Linked DNA regions of Homo sapiens: regions 1 and 3 are each linked to region 2. Evidence: promoter capture Hi-C in 16 types of primary human blood cells and fetal thymus (Javierre and others, 2016). All regions are on one chromosome and are shown on one strand. Each heading gives the region's core, a stretch centred on a gene start or on the middle of the fragment in contact. The rest is flanking DNA. Distances are from core to core; before and after follow the strand shown. Region 1 overlaps JMJD1C (jumonji domain containing 1C). Region 2 holds the start of JMJD1C-AS1 (JMJD1C antisense RNA 1). Region 3 has its middle 4.7 kb from the start of REEP3.

Region 1 (4,346 bases), core at 584-3,083, 61 kb before region 2:
AGTCCCTGAAGATCTGGTTTCTGCAGACTCCTCTGACCTTGCTAACAACCACTTGTCCCTTACTCTACGGATCAGTATGGTAATCTTCTTCCTATTCCTAAAACATACCAAGCTCATTTTTCCATCACGGTAGAAGGAAAGCATGATTGAAATAATGTTTGAAACCAAAAGAAAGTTAAGGAAAAACTGAGACGGACAGACCACTCTCTGGATCTCTGCTTTTATTTTCTTAAGAGAAAGAGGTTAGTGTCAGCAAGCTGGAAATTTAAGTGTCACCAGGAAAGCCAAGGGATGCCCAAAGCTAGTATAAGTCATCCTACCACTCAAATGTACATTACTTATCCAAACTGTGTAACTTTTTAAAACTTCAGAAACAAACTTCCAAAGTACATTCCAGATAAGTACCAATTTAGTAAGACTGACAATGAATAAAGAGTACTTATAATATTTCTAAAATCTAATAAAGGTGGTACTTAAAATCACTTAAGGTCTTCACATCAGATGATCAAGTTACATAGGTAATACCATATAAGAGCTTGTGAAATGACATATTCAATGTTCTTTGGAATTAGAACCAGAGACATTGAACACAATGTCTTTGAGCCTTAGTTTTCAAGTTAGTCAAAATTAATAGTATTTCAGAGGGCTGTTTTAAGGATTAAGCATGACAACAAAAGGACTTAACAAAGTAACCAACAGACCTTAAGTGCGAACGCTGTTTAAGCATTGGTTTTCCTTTCTTTTTTCCAACTTAAAAGAATGATGTACAGGCCAGGCGCAGTGGCTCACACCTGTAATCCCACCACTTTGGGAGGCCAAGGCAGGCGGATCACAAGGTCAGGAGTTTGAGATCAACCTGGCCAATATGGTGAAACCCCATCTCTACTAAAAAATACAAAAAGGCCGGGCGTGGTGGCTCACGCCTGTAATTCCAGCACTTTGGGAAGCTGAGGCAGGAGAATCATTTGAACCTAGGAGGCGGAGGTTGCAGTGAGCCGAGATTGCGCCACTGCACTCCAGCCTGGGCGATAGAGTGAGACTCTTGTCTCAAAAAAAACAACAACAAAAAACACAAAAATTAGCCTGGTATGGTGGCACGCACCTGTAGTCCCAGCTACTCAGGAGACTGAGGCAGGAGAATCGCTGTAGCTCAGGAGGCAGAGGTTGCAGTGAGCTGAAATTGCACCACTGCACTCCAGCCTGGGCAACAGAGCAAGACTCCATCTCAAAAAAAAAAAGTGAATGATGTACTTCATAAAGACTAGAGAGACAATATTTGGACAGATATTTGTCACCATGATCAAGACTGCACTGTAATGAAACGTTAAAAAGAGTAAGGACACATAAAATGCAGTTATTTAGAGAAACAGCAAATTTGATTTTAGGAAGAACCAACAGATAAATTGGCCAGTCTCATTTCAAAACAAACGAGACCAAAAAAAGCAGAGAGAGAAAAGATATACGACACACTAATATTTTTAATCTTGGCTTTTTATATTCCAGTAGTGGAACCACATGCTAATTTTTTTTTCTTTTTAAACAGATAGGGCCTTGCTATGTTGCCCAGGCAGGCCTTAAACTCCTGAACTCCGGGGGATCCTTGTGCCTCAGCCTCCTGAGTAGCTGAATAACTATAGCTACGTGCTAGCATACCCAGTAAGTATTAAGATATATTTGAGATTTTAACATGAAGAAGTAAAAATTATCTCTTAATATGAAAAAAGAAGAAAAATGAAATTTATGATTGGAATATAGTAACACGTCTGTATAATTTATCTTTTCAAAAACAGATCTGAACAAGAAAGGTTACTGAGTAGCAGAGATGTAAAACATCTAAAATCCATAAAGCCAAGGGTGACAACATAGTAATTAGGGAAGGAGGATAAAGAGAAGCAATTATTAACTTATAAATATGTAACAAAAATTGGTCATATAAAGAATGTTTTAACATTAAATTTTAAAATGAAACAAAAGCAGTACATGGGGTGAAAAGAAATAGCAACTACCTTAACACTTGTTCTAAGTCCATTTTCTGAAGAAATTCAATCCAAAAAGTAGGAGTCTTTGCTATTTACCAGCTGCAATGTTTAAGGATCAACATGATACAATTAGTTCTTGCTCCCAAGGATAACTACAATTATATTTCAAACAGAGTGCAAGGATAAATATGTGAATAGCAATCCTTATAAAAATACTACCATCATATAACTTTTTAAATTTAAGAAGTTTATACAACACATGTATGTACATTCTCTCACTTCATTTTTAGCACCTCAATTCTCTCAATTAAATCCTATAAAGTAGGTATTAAATATGTTTTTCAGATGAGAACTCAAGACCCAAAAAGATTAAGTGATTTATCTGTTACACAGCTAATACATGGGAGAGTCAGAATTCAAACCTGAGTCTACTTTAATACCACATGTAGATTTTTTTTTTTTTTTTTTTTTTGAGATGGAGTCTTGCTCTGTTGTCCATGCTGGAGTACAGTGGCATGATCTCAGCTCACTGCAACCTCTGCCTCCAAAGCTCAAGCGATTCTCATGCCTCAGCCTCCCAAGTAGCTGGGATTACAGGTGTGCGCCACCAAGCTCAGCTAATTTTTTTGTATTTTTAATACAGACGACGTTTCACCACGTTGGCCAGGCTGGTCTCAAACTTCTGGGCTTGAGTGATCCACCCACCTCAGTCTCCCAAAGTGCGGGGATTACAGGCATGAGCCACAGCGCCCAGCCCCACATGTACATTTAAAAGGAAACAGTACTTGACAATATGGATGGGAGACAAAAAAGCAAAAGATGTATTTTTTAATTCTATAGATGTCAATAATTCTAATAAGAAAATGCAGCAGACATTTCCTGTGAAAGTAGTAACTCTAGTAGTAAAAAGTAATATCAATATTTGATTTCTCAGGGCCTGACATACATTAGGAACTTACTGTCAGTGGACTGAATAAATGAAGGGGATGAGTAAAACAATGAGGCTACATAGTTTCTGGTGTCCAATTTTTAAAGGACATATATATAACAGGAGAGAAACAAATATGCATATATACAGATTAATATCATCAATCTTATAAGAACGTTATCAGAACAAACTACATTTTATAAGTAATACAAAGGAAAACCAAACAAGCCCATTGCCTGCATAAATTCAGGAGGCTAAACTAAGAAGAAACAAGAATATTACATGGGAAAGATGGTGTAATATTAACAGATGCAGACAAAATAAACAACTACTCACACCTCCTGCTTTGTATCCATCTTCTCCACTAAGGAGAATTGAATAAAAAACTGGAAAAGGTAGAAGAAACATAGTTAAAAAGTAAATGAAGAGCAAATAAGAAGACAGAGAATATCTAGTCACTTTTAAATTTAGTTTTTTTCTGTGGAGCTTAACTAATCACAGGTCGGAATTAGGCATGTATGCATCTCCAATGTGTGGAAAACAATACTGGAAGAGAACAGTTTCTAATAAGCAATTTTGGACATGAAGAAAAACGTTTCCTAGAAAATATGTATCAAACAATCACAGAAGTTTCAAGTGTAAAAGTTTAATAATCCATCAATATGTGTCCATATCAAAGTCCAGAAGTTTTTATTTGTAAGATGGTTTAAAGGCATAAAAAAAGAAAAAAGGCTACACCAAGAGGTAATTTTATTTCCCTACAAGTGATGTTAAATTTTTATTATCAATAAATTTCTTCTTTTTAGGTAGGCTAGTATAACTAATCCAACACTAGATTTTTTTTTAAGCAAAATAGTATGGGAAAATATCCTGAAAATATTCTTAGGAATAAAATAAAAAAATAAAAACTCAATAATACAGCACAAGCAGGTACTGATAGCTGGAATAAACAACCATAACTTATAATATTAACCAAGAACTAAAGTAAAATTGATAAAATGTCTTCAAATATATTCCACAGGGCTCTATCATTACACTTCAGTCAAGACACTTACAAAAGTCAAATTGTGAAATGAATGTAGGACTCAAAGAATAATAATTAACATGCTGGATGATGAGGATTGTAAGGTTTCAACAGATTGAAAAGATGGGTAAAATAAACTAATTTTAAAATAACAGCAAAACCAGTGGTAGCTAACTTAGTGGAAAAAAAAAGAAGCTTAATCTAAAGCCAAATATTAGGGAAAGCTGATTAATATGCTAAATTACCAAAGATAAGCTATGCCCCAAAGGTTCAAAAATTGAGTAGGGGTAAAGTAGGGCTAACAGGAAGACTGACCATAGTCTACTGAAGCAGCAGCTAGACTCTCAGATTTCTCCCTGACTCTAGCCTAGCAACTGTCTCCTTTCCCATTATGGTACGAAAAAAAGGTTTATTT
Region 2 (4,467 bases), core at 1,628-4,127:
ATTTTAATCTTACTTTATTTGTATTAAATTATATATGTTCATATTGTACAAGAAATATGTTTGCTACCACGGTGTGGTAAAAAATAATTTAATCCCAAAGATATCCATGTCCTAATCCCAGGAACCTGTAACTGTTACATTACATGGCAAAGGAGAATTAAAGTTTACAAGGAATTATGGTTGTTAATAGATGGCAAGATTATCCTGGATTATGTCAATTGGCCCAAAGTAATCAACAGGGCACTTACAAGTGTAATGGGGAAGCAGGAGAGTTAGAAGGAGATGACTAGGGAAAAACGGTCAGAGAGATACAACTTGGTTGGCTTTTAAGATGGAGGAAGGGGGCCATGAGCCAAGGAATGTGGACAGCTTCTAAAAACTAGAAAAGGAAAGAAAATGGATCTCTCCTAGAATAAACAGTCTTGCCACACTTTGATTTTAGCCCAGCAAGATCCAGGTCTTATTTGTGATCTCCAGAACTACAAAATAATAAGCGTATAACATTTAAACCACCAAGATTACGTTAATTAAACAATTATAGAAATTTAATTCACGTGGCAATTCCTCATACATAAGACCCAAAATAAGAATAACTGATTATCTTTGAGACACAATATTCCCTCAACTACTTTGAAGTTCTTATCATTATCCTTCCAAATCATGTGCCACAGGTTTGTGGCACATGTCCTGCCTGGTGTATCCAGCCAGGACTTCTAGTAGACTTAACAGGTTTTTAATTATACATATTTGTAGCTTTAAAAAAAAAATCACAAACTAGCCTATTCAACATTTTCCATATACTTTCTTTTTACATATTTATTTATTTATTTAGAGACAGGATCTCACTCTGTCGCCCAGGCTAGAGTGCAGTGGCATAATCTTGGCTCACTGCAGTCTCAACCTCACTGAGCTCAGGTGATCCTCCCACCTCAGCCGCCCCAGTAGATGGAACCACAGGCATTGTACTACTATGCCCGGCTAATTTCTGTATTTTTTGTAGGGACAGGGTTTCGCCATGTTGCCCAGGCTAGTCTCAAAACTCCTGCGCTCAAGTATCTTCCCATCTCAGTCTCCCAAAGTGTTGGGTTTACAGGCGTGAGCCACTGTGCCTAGCCTAATTTCATGTAACTTAAAATCTACTCTGCAGTAATCAAAGTCGAACAGGAATATTACATTATGTTAATGCTAAACTGTTCCAAGTTTCGTTTAAGAAATGTGAATGTAAGAAAATCTGGGAATAAATCTAAAATGGTAGATTCTAGGCTAAAAAAACTAAATTAATATTCAAATTTTCAAATAAAGACAGATTAAAAAAACTCATCAAGGGTTCACATAGGTATGGTTCAACATACATTTTTCTTTTTTTGGTAAAATTTAGATATGGTGAAACGCAAAGATAGTATCAATTCAACGAGTTTTGACAAATATATATATCTGTGTAACCAACAATCAGGATAGGAAACATTTCTATCACCTGAAGAAACTCCTATTCTTTCCAGTCAATCTCTACCATCCATAGATAATTTATTTTTTAATATCCAGCTTAATACCTTACTAACATATGCAAACTTAACTCTTTAATCACTTAAATTCCCAACTAAGAGAGCAATTAAGTTATTTATATATACAAATTTTTTTTTTCCTTTTTTACAGATGAGGGGGTCTCACCTATGTTGCCCAGGCTGGACTCTTAATAAGTCCTGGGCTCTAGCAATCCTCTTACCTCAGCCTTTTACACAAACAAAAATAGTTACTGAATTGAACTGCCATAATTTTTAGAACCACTAACATCACCAATACTTTTTAAGGAAGATTATACATTTCTATACGAAAATAACCAGCCAAAACCTTCAAAACTACCTCTATTTTCTGTTAGAAATACCTATCAGCAAAACACACCTATTTTGCGATATCGAGTCAATATTAATACATGCCGCATTAACCATATCATTGACTACAGTGAGGAAAACCCGAGTTTACAAAAACACACTCAGAAACTATTAAAATAGGTAGGTAAAAAATATTAGGTAGATACCTGTACAAATATTACAATGAATTTGGAATTGTAAGCTTTCATGCACACAAAGGGAAAAAAATTTCCTAAATTTGAAGTTTTCATTGAAAAAGTAAATGGCTCAGGGCATTACAAATAAATTTCACAGATTACGTATTCATAAATCAACCTTTGGAAGTCTAGTCCATGTCTTGTCTCTACTCCGCCCCTTACCTTCAAGCTGTCCCTCAGTGAGAATGTACTTGGAACACAACAGAGCATATTACAGCTCAATATCATGCACATACCTACGCTACTCAAAGAAAGCACTGGCAGCGTCACATGTAAGAAACCAAAAAAAAAAAAAGATAATCAATTCTGCATGGCATTTAACATTTTAATTGACAACATTTTTCGTCTTATTTAAAATCGTATAAAACCCAGAAACAGCTTGACTCCAAAGAACTATACCTTTCTAACAAGAAAAGCACATTGGGGACAGAAAGAGAGATTACCCTCCATACCAAAATTTTTCACTTTTATCCTTTACGGTTAGAAAGCCAAGCATCTATTAAGGAGAGGATGAATCCGGGCACAGCCACCACCACGGCCTCTGCCTCTAAAACACATAGGAATCCCCGGACTGTGTGGGAAGGTCTCTTTTCTTTTCTCCCTCCCCTTCAGCAACCTTACAGGATAAGTTTTAAGTCTCGAGCTACAGCACTATGAAGACTTTTCCAAGAAAAGAGATACCAGGGAAGCTGGCCGCCTGTCGCCATGAGTGGTCCGCCCCCTACCCCCACCTGCCCGCGCGGCGCCGGACTCGCGGCTCCGCCTTTCGGGGAGGTCTCCGTGGCCGCCCAGGCGCCACAGCGGGGAGCCGCGGTCGACCCCTCCGGGATGGGGGCCAGGGCAGCCTCCGCGGCTATCCCGGGAGTCCTGCTCCGACACCACCTCCACAGGGGAAGCCGCTCGGAGAGACGCAGGGACCCAGGCAAGGGATGCGGGCAAACGCGCCAAGGGTTCAGCAGAGGGGCGTGACCGCCAGTTGGCCGGGCTGAGCGAGGCGCCAGAGGGAAGCCTGCAAGGTACGTCTGCGAGAGCCGGGTGCGGGCGCGGCAGGGGAAAAGGGGGGCGCTGACTCTCTTACCGCCAGGTCCGGATTGCGGCTGTCCCTGTGTGACACGGCTCGGATGACCCCCGCTCGCCAGCTTCGCCAGCCGCGTCCGCTCTCCCAGCGCTCCGAACGTGCCTCGTCGCCGACCGCCACACACAGGAACCGCTTACCCACCAGCTCTGCCCGCGTCTCTACCGCCATAGCTGTCGCTGCCGAAGCGGCCGCTGCCTCCTCCAGTGCGAGGGAACCGATGAAACCTCACTCCTACCGGCCGCTCATGCTGAGGAGAGCGGACCGGGACACAGCAGCGGACCCGAAAGAGCGCAGACTCGGGACGAACCGGCCGCTCTGCCCCGGACACAGCGACCTCGGGCCCTCCCCGCAAACACTCCTTTGGACTCCCAGATTCGCAGCCTTGTGCTGCAGCGCCACACAAGAAAACTGAAACAAAACCCAACGCGGCCGTCGAAGACCCCGAGGCAGCCCAGCCGCCGCCACCGCGCCGCGGCCAGTACTGCTCCGTCTCCCTCCCCGGGCAGCGGCGGCGCGCAGCGCGTCTCCTTCCGCCGGCGCGGGCGGGGCAGCAGCCGCGGGAGGGTCGGCGGAACCACCGCAGACGGAAAGTAGTGCCCGGCCCTGCGGAGGCGGCAGCGGCCACTGGGTCCGTCCAGATCCAGAGGCGGCGGCGGCGGCGGCAGCGGGAGACGAAAAAATGAAGAGGGCCGCGGGAAAGTAGGCGACAGCTATTCAAAGCTTTTGGGGGTCTACCTTTGTATTCGTTGCTCCCTCAGAGGTGGAGGTGAGGGGAAAGTGAAGTGTAGTGGTTCCACTCTGATCACAAAATAAACTCCTGGGTTGACGCCTCACCCGCGGTTTGATGTTCAGAGCACACAGCGCCCGCCGCCTGAGTTAGCCTGAATTAGCAGTCCCGCAGTAACAGCAGCAGAGCAGGACAACACTTCTACTGAAAACTAAGCCCCAAAGTCACAGCAGAACCAACCGTTCATGACTTCAAGGGAAAACGAGGGGGAAAATGTGATCCTTTCATTCTTCTCATTTGTGGTGATACTAATTACATGTTTAAGCTATTCACAGATTTAAATTCGTCACTGCTTTATTATAAGAACAGCAAATGCTCCGTGGCGGGCCCTTGTCAACGTCCTGAAATTTCACAAACCGTGTCTGCGACAGTCTTAGTACTTTTAGTACTGGTACACAGCTCAAACACACTGGTCAGATAATAAAAGCAGAGAAAATCCCCAGATTCAGTTATTAGAAAATACCATGGAAAGAAAAGGATTTTAGCCAATCACAATTCAAGAAAAAAAATATTTATTTCCCATCCAATTACAATCGG
Region 3 (4,464 bases), core at 1,477-3,976, 52 kb after region 2:
ATGCAGACATAACAAAGAATGAAATCATGTCCTTTTGCAGCAACATGGATGGAGTTGGAGGTCATTATCCTAAGCAAATTAAGGTAGGAACAGAAAACCAAATACTGCATGCCCTAACTTATAAGTGGGAGCTAAACACTGGGTACTCACTGACATAATGATGGCAACAATAGACACTGGAGACTACTAGAGGAGGGAGGGAGGGGGTGGAAGGGATGAAAAACTGTGGGATACTAAGGTCAGTACCTGGGTGACGGGACCATTCAGACCCCAAACCTCAGCATCATGCAACATACCTAGGTAACAGACCACACACATGTACCCCAGAATCTAAAATAAAAGCTTAAAAAAAAAGTAAAAATACGTAAAAAAATTTCTGGTCTGATATTTCCAACATTCCTGCCATATTTAGCTATGGTTCTGATGTTTGGTTTGGTCTCCTCAAACTACAGTTTTTGCCTTTTAGTATGCCTGTAATTTTTTGTTAAAGGTGGACATAATAATACTAAGTATTTTTTTTTTTAAAGCCTACAGTAAACAGGTGTTTTGTAATGCAGTACTAGGGTGATGGGGGAGGAGAAGCATTCTATAGGCCTAGGATTAGGTCTCAGTCCTCTGGTGAGCCCGTGCCTCTAGACTGTGACCTTCCACCAGCATTTCTCAGGTTTTTTCCTCCCTTCAAATGGAACAGGGTGGCTGGAGAGGGCTGAAGTTATTTCCCTTCCCACAACTGGAAGTCTAGAGGGAGGTGGAGTTAGGAATTTCCTTTTCTCCATGTGGAGGGCTAGAGTTGACTGGAGCTGCATTTTTCCCATTCCCCAGTTAGGTTTGGTTCTAAGAGAAATAATTTCTCCTGAGGGCAGGCCTTGTTAAGAACAGAATACCTTGGTGTATTTCAAAATGTTTCACTTCTCCCTTCTCCAGCTGACAGCGTAAGAGGATTTTTCTCAAATATTTACTGTGAGGACCTGGTAGAGCTCCAGGAAGTAAATCTCACAAAACTACGGGGGCTTCCTTAGGACTGGCTCTCCCTGGAGCTTTTAGGTCTCAGACTTGTCCACACTGAGCCTCCAGCAACTCCTCAATTACAGCTCAGATTTTCCTACCCGGGTACTGGTTCCCTCAGGGGTTTCTGATCCTCGGTTTCTGCTTCAGTAGTTGTGATTCTCTGTATCCAGCTGTCTGTCTCTCCAGTTTTGGAGGATGTGGTTTGCCCTGTGACTTCACTTATCTGAGGAATCTAAGAAGTGTTGTCTATTCTTCATTTTGTTCAGTTATTTATTTGTTGTCAGGACCAAGTGGCAATTACTGAGCTCCTTACATGCTACACTGGAAATTGGAAGTCTTCAGAGATTACTTCTTAATAGTTTTTAAGAGTGCTTTGTATATGAAGATATATACCCAAAAATCAGACAAAAAACCCTCTGTCAGGTTTTACAAATTTTTTCCTAGTTTGTCATCTGTCTTTTAATCTTGTTTATATTGGTTTTGGAGGCACAGGAGTTTCAATTCTTGTATACTCAAATCTATGATTATGGTTTCTGATTTTACGACAGAAAGGTCCTCCTGCTATCAAGAATATAATACCTTTATCTATTTTTTTGTACTTTTATGGTACTTTCAGTTTTTCCATTTCCTACCTATCAGAATTTTTTTTCTTCAGTTTTTATTAAATGGCTGGCTGGTTGTCACATCGTTTACTGAATAATTCCATCGTGTTCCAAAAACCATAAAATGCTGTCTTTATCTTAGACTAAATATCTATTAATAATTGGGTATGTTTCTGGACTTTGAGGGAAAAAAAAAAAAAAACCTGGGAACAGAGACTGCCTGTGAAATGAACTGAGTAGCTGGAAACAGGGAAGAAAAAAAGACTAATTTTTCACTGTTCCCTTTTAAATTTATTCCACGTGCTTTGAATTATCACTCAAGACATCAACAGAAATCTGTTGAAATTCTGCTTACTAGACATGATGTCATTATCAAATATTTCAGATTTGGCAAATTATACCACAACCCCATATGCACCTGAATACCTGAAATCATAAGTCTATCTTGAGCTTAAAACCCTGATTTAATCTATTCTATTTTAAATAAATAGTAAAAGTACCTCAATTATCTTAAACTAGATGTTTCTCTGCCACTTAACATGGTCAAACACAAAACCATATTTTACCATGAAGGAAAAACAAAAGCTTCTGTCTAAATCCTTAATTGTTATAGTTAAGGCTACTACTGGAAATGTGTAAGAATCTCAGATAATGTCAATTTCTTACTGTGTGTGCTTCCCAGATCCAGCCATCACAGATGTATTTTACTTTTTGTGTTGTCAGCTAGTCACCATCTTTTTCTACCAATACCTATAGTGAATACTTAATCAGAACCTAATCTTTTTATTCTATTGCTATCTGATCATTGTATTTTCAGTATCATTTCATTATCATTCAATCTCTGAAGCCAAACTGAACCTCTGTTGTAACCATAATTCCATAAGCGACTGCCTGAGAGAAAAGAGGTATCCATCTAGCAGCAGACAGAAAAAGAACAGCTTTCTTCTGTTATGTCAGTCTTCTTAAGATCCTCTCTCTCCCCCTATTTTCTAAACAACTATGAAAGACAGACTCATTTAGTAATTTTAGCCTTTCTCCAAATAAATATATTTTTTAGCCACTGAAAATGCTCTCTTAATAGAAATGCGAAGGTGACCTAGTATTCAGTCTCATTAGCATTCTCATTAATAATTACAGCGATCAGACATTATCTTTGTACCCTCTAATTCTGCTCTCACTACCTGCTCTCCTAGGTACTTTCTTAGTCTCTGTTGCTCTGCTAATAAATGAACTCTTTTAACATGCAGAAGATGCACATTCCACATATCTCCTAGGAAAACTAATATTTAAAAGAGAAACCAATGCTTTTAACAGTCTAATTACCCTTAGATTTTAAAGCCTCTTATTTTTGATCTTCATAACAGTATCATCCCCATATTCAACAGGAAACATACAGTGTGATTTACCAAACATCCTATTACCGGTAGTAGAACTAGGTCTCCTGTGAGAATGTCCTTTGCCCTAAATACATTGCCTTCCTCAGAGAAGAAAAGTGTCTTTGCAGAACACAATGAAGGATGCGCTTTATATAGCACAATGTATGAATATTAGTGATATATGTATAAAATCAAAATTAAGTTCAGTACTTAAAGAAATCATATCTTCTATATAAGAAATGATTTCAAGCACTCCAAGAGACCACACTATAAAAGCTTCTAGGCAGAAGGTACTATATTTCCTTTTCTCCCAGTGCCCCTAGCACCTTATCTTATACAGTGAAGTACTTATCTAATGGCCACTTTTTTTTTTTTTTTTTTTTTTTTGAGACAGAGTCTCACTCTGTCACCCAAGCTGGAGTGCAGTGGTGCAATCTCAGCTCAGTGCAACCTCCGCCTCCCAGGTTCAGGTGATTCTCCTGCCTCAGCCTGCCAAGTAGCTGGGATTACAGGTGTGCACCATCATGCCCAGCTAATTTTTGTATTTTTAGTAGAGATGAGGTCTTGCCACATTGGCCAGGATGGCCTCGAACTCTTGGCCTCAAGTGATCTGCCCTTGTCGGCCTCCCAAAGTGCTGGGATTACAGGCATGAGCCACCGCACCCAGCATAATGGCCACTTATTTCTTAGCAAATCTCAACTATCTGCTAATAAATTTGGCAGATTTCTGTGTATCTGAGACACAGTCCAATACACAGAAATTATAAACACCCTCCACTAAAATCTGGGCACTTTTCATGAGAGACTCTTCTCAGATGAAGTTACTCTTACTTTAGATCAACAGTTCTCAACCACATCAGATTCAATGTGCCCCTTGCATAAAATATTTTCCAACTTCTGCTTTACCACCCTGAAACAAAATAACAATATTCCTACAATTTCAAACAAATCCATATACCCTAAATAAGAGTGGAAAAGAGACATGAAAATGATTTATAATAACATATATTTCGACGTGGGGCAAAACTACACTAGAAGACTTAAAGAAGTAACTAGTAGCTGAATATATCTATGAATGCAGAGCTGTTTGTGATACAATTTTCCAAAACTGTAAACAATTCTTGGTCAAGTTGTGAACAAAACAATCTTCCTTCAATTCACATAACCGTTGCATGTGGAAACAGACTCAGTTAAAATTCAGTCTCAGTTAAAATCATGATGCAAGATGGAGGTTCCAGGCTTTGATAATTACAAATACTACATGAAAGTCAGGCAGATATTCTTAAATCATGCAAGACATGGGGACACTTTGTTCAGGACTGTCCCACACCTCTCTAGCCTTCACTCAACAAATGCAAGTTGTTAGCTCCAATCATTACAACAATCTAAAAAATGCCTTCCAGTTTCCCCTTGGAGGGCAACACCAAGCTGGACCCACCGCCTTAAACACAGTTCCGCTATCTATCCCAGTATAATGT

What was found. Contacts are between HindIII fragments. The CHiCAGO score rates a contact against its expected background, and 5 or more counts as called.
Region 1: a contact is called between a fragment that was not itself captured here and the fragment with the promoter of JMJD1C-AS1 in region 2, in 3 of 17 cell types (M2 macrophages, endothelial precursors and erythroblasts). The highest score is 7.3, in M2 macrophages.
Region 3: a contact is called between a fragment that was not itself captured here and the fragment with the promoter of JMJD1C-AS1 in region 2, in 1 of 17 cell types (M2 macrophages). The highest score is 5.6, in M2 macrophages.

What each region holds. Positions count from the first base shown.
Region 1 is chr10:63,402,888-63,407,233 of GRCh38, forward strand. The region is part of intron 1 of JMJD1C (jumonji domain containing 1C); the gene reads right to left. Among named protein-coding and RNA genes, the nearest start is that of JMJD1C-AS2, 26 kb to the right of the region's middle. The HindIII fragment of the contact is 4,582 bases long and covers 1-4,124 here.
Region 2 is chr10:63,462,352-63,466,818 of GRCh38, forward strand. JMJD1C-AS1 (JMJD1C antisense RNA 1) reads left to right here and starts at 2,878. Exons shown (of 1, transcript NR_027182.1): 1 at 2,878-4,212. It overlaps JMJD1C (jumonji domain containing 1C), which reads right to left and starts at 3,626. Exons shown (of 26, transcript NM_032776.3): 1 at 3,144-3,626. The coding sequence starts at 3,311. RefSeq lists silencers at 2,739-3,078, 3,619-3,768 and enhancers at 2,858-3,647, 3,269-3,338, 3,419-3,588, 4,039-4,088. The HindIII fragment of the contact is 1,793 bases long and covers 2,069-3,861 here.
Region 3 is chr10:63,514,438-63,518,901 of GRCh38, forward strand. It overlaps a transcript of JMJD1C not described here. Among named protein-coding and RNA genes, the nearest start is that of REEP3, 4.7 kb to the right of the region's middle. The HindIII fragment of the contact is 1,067 bases long and covers 2,194-3,260 here.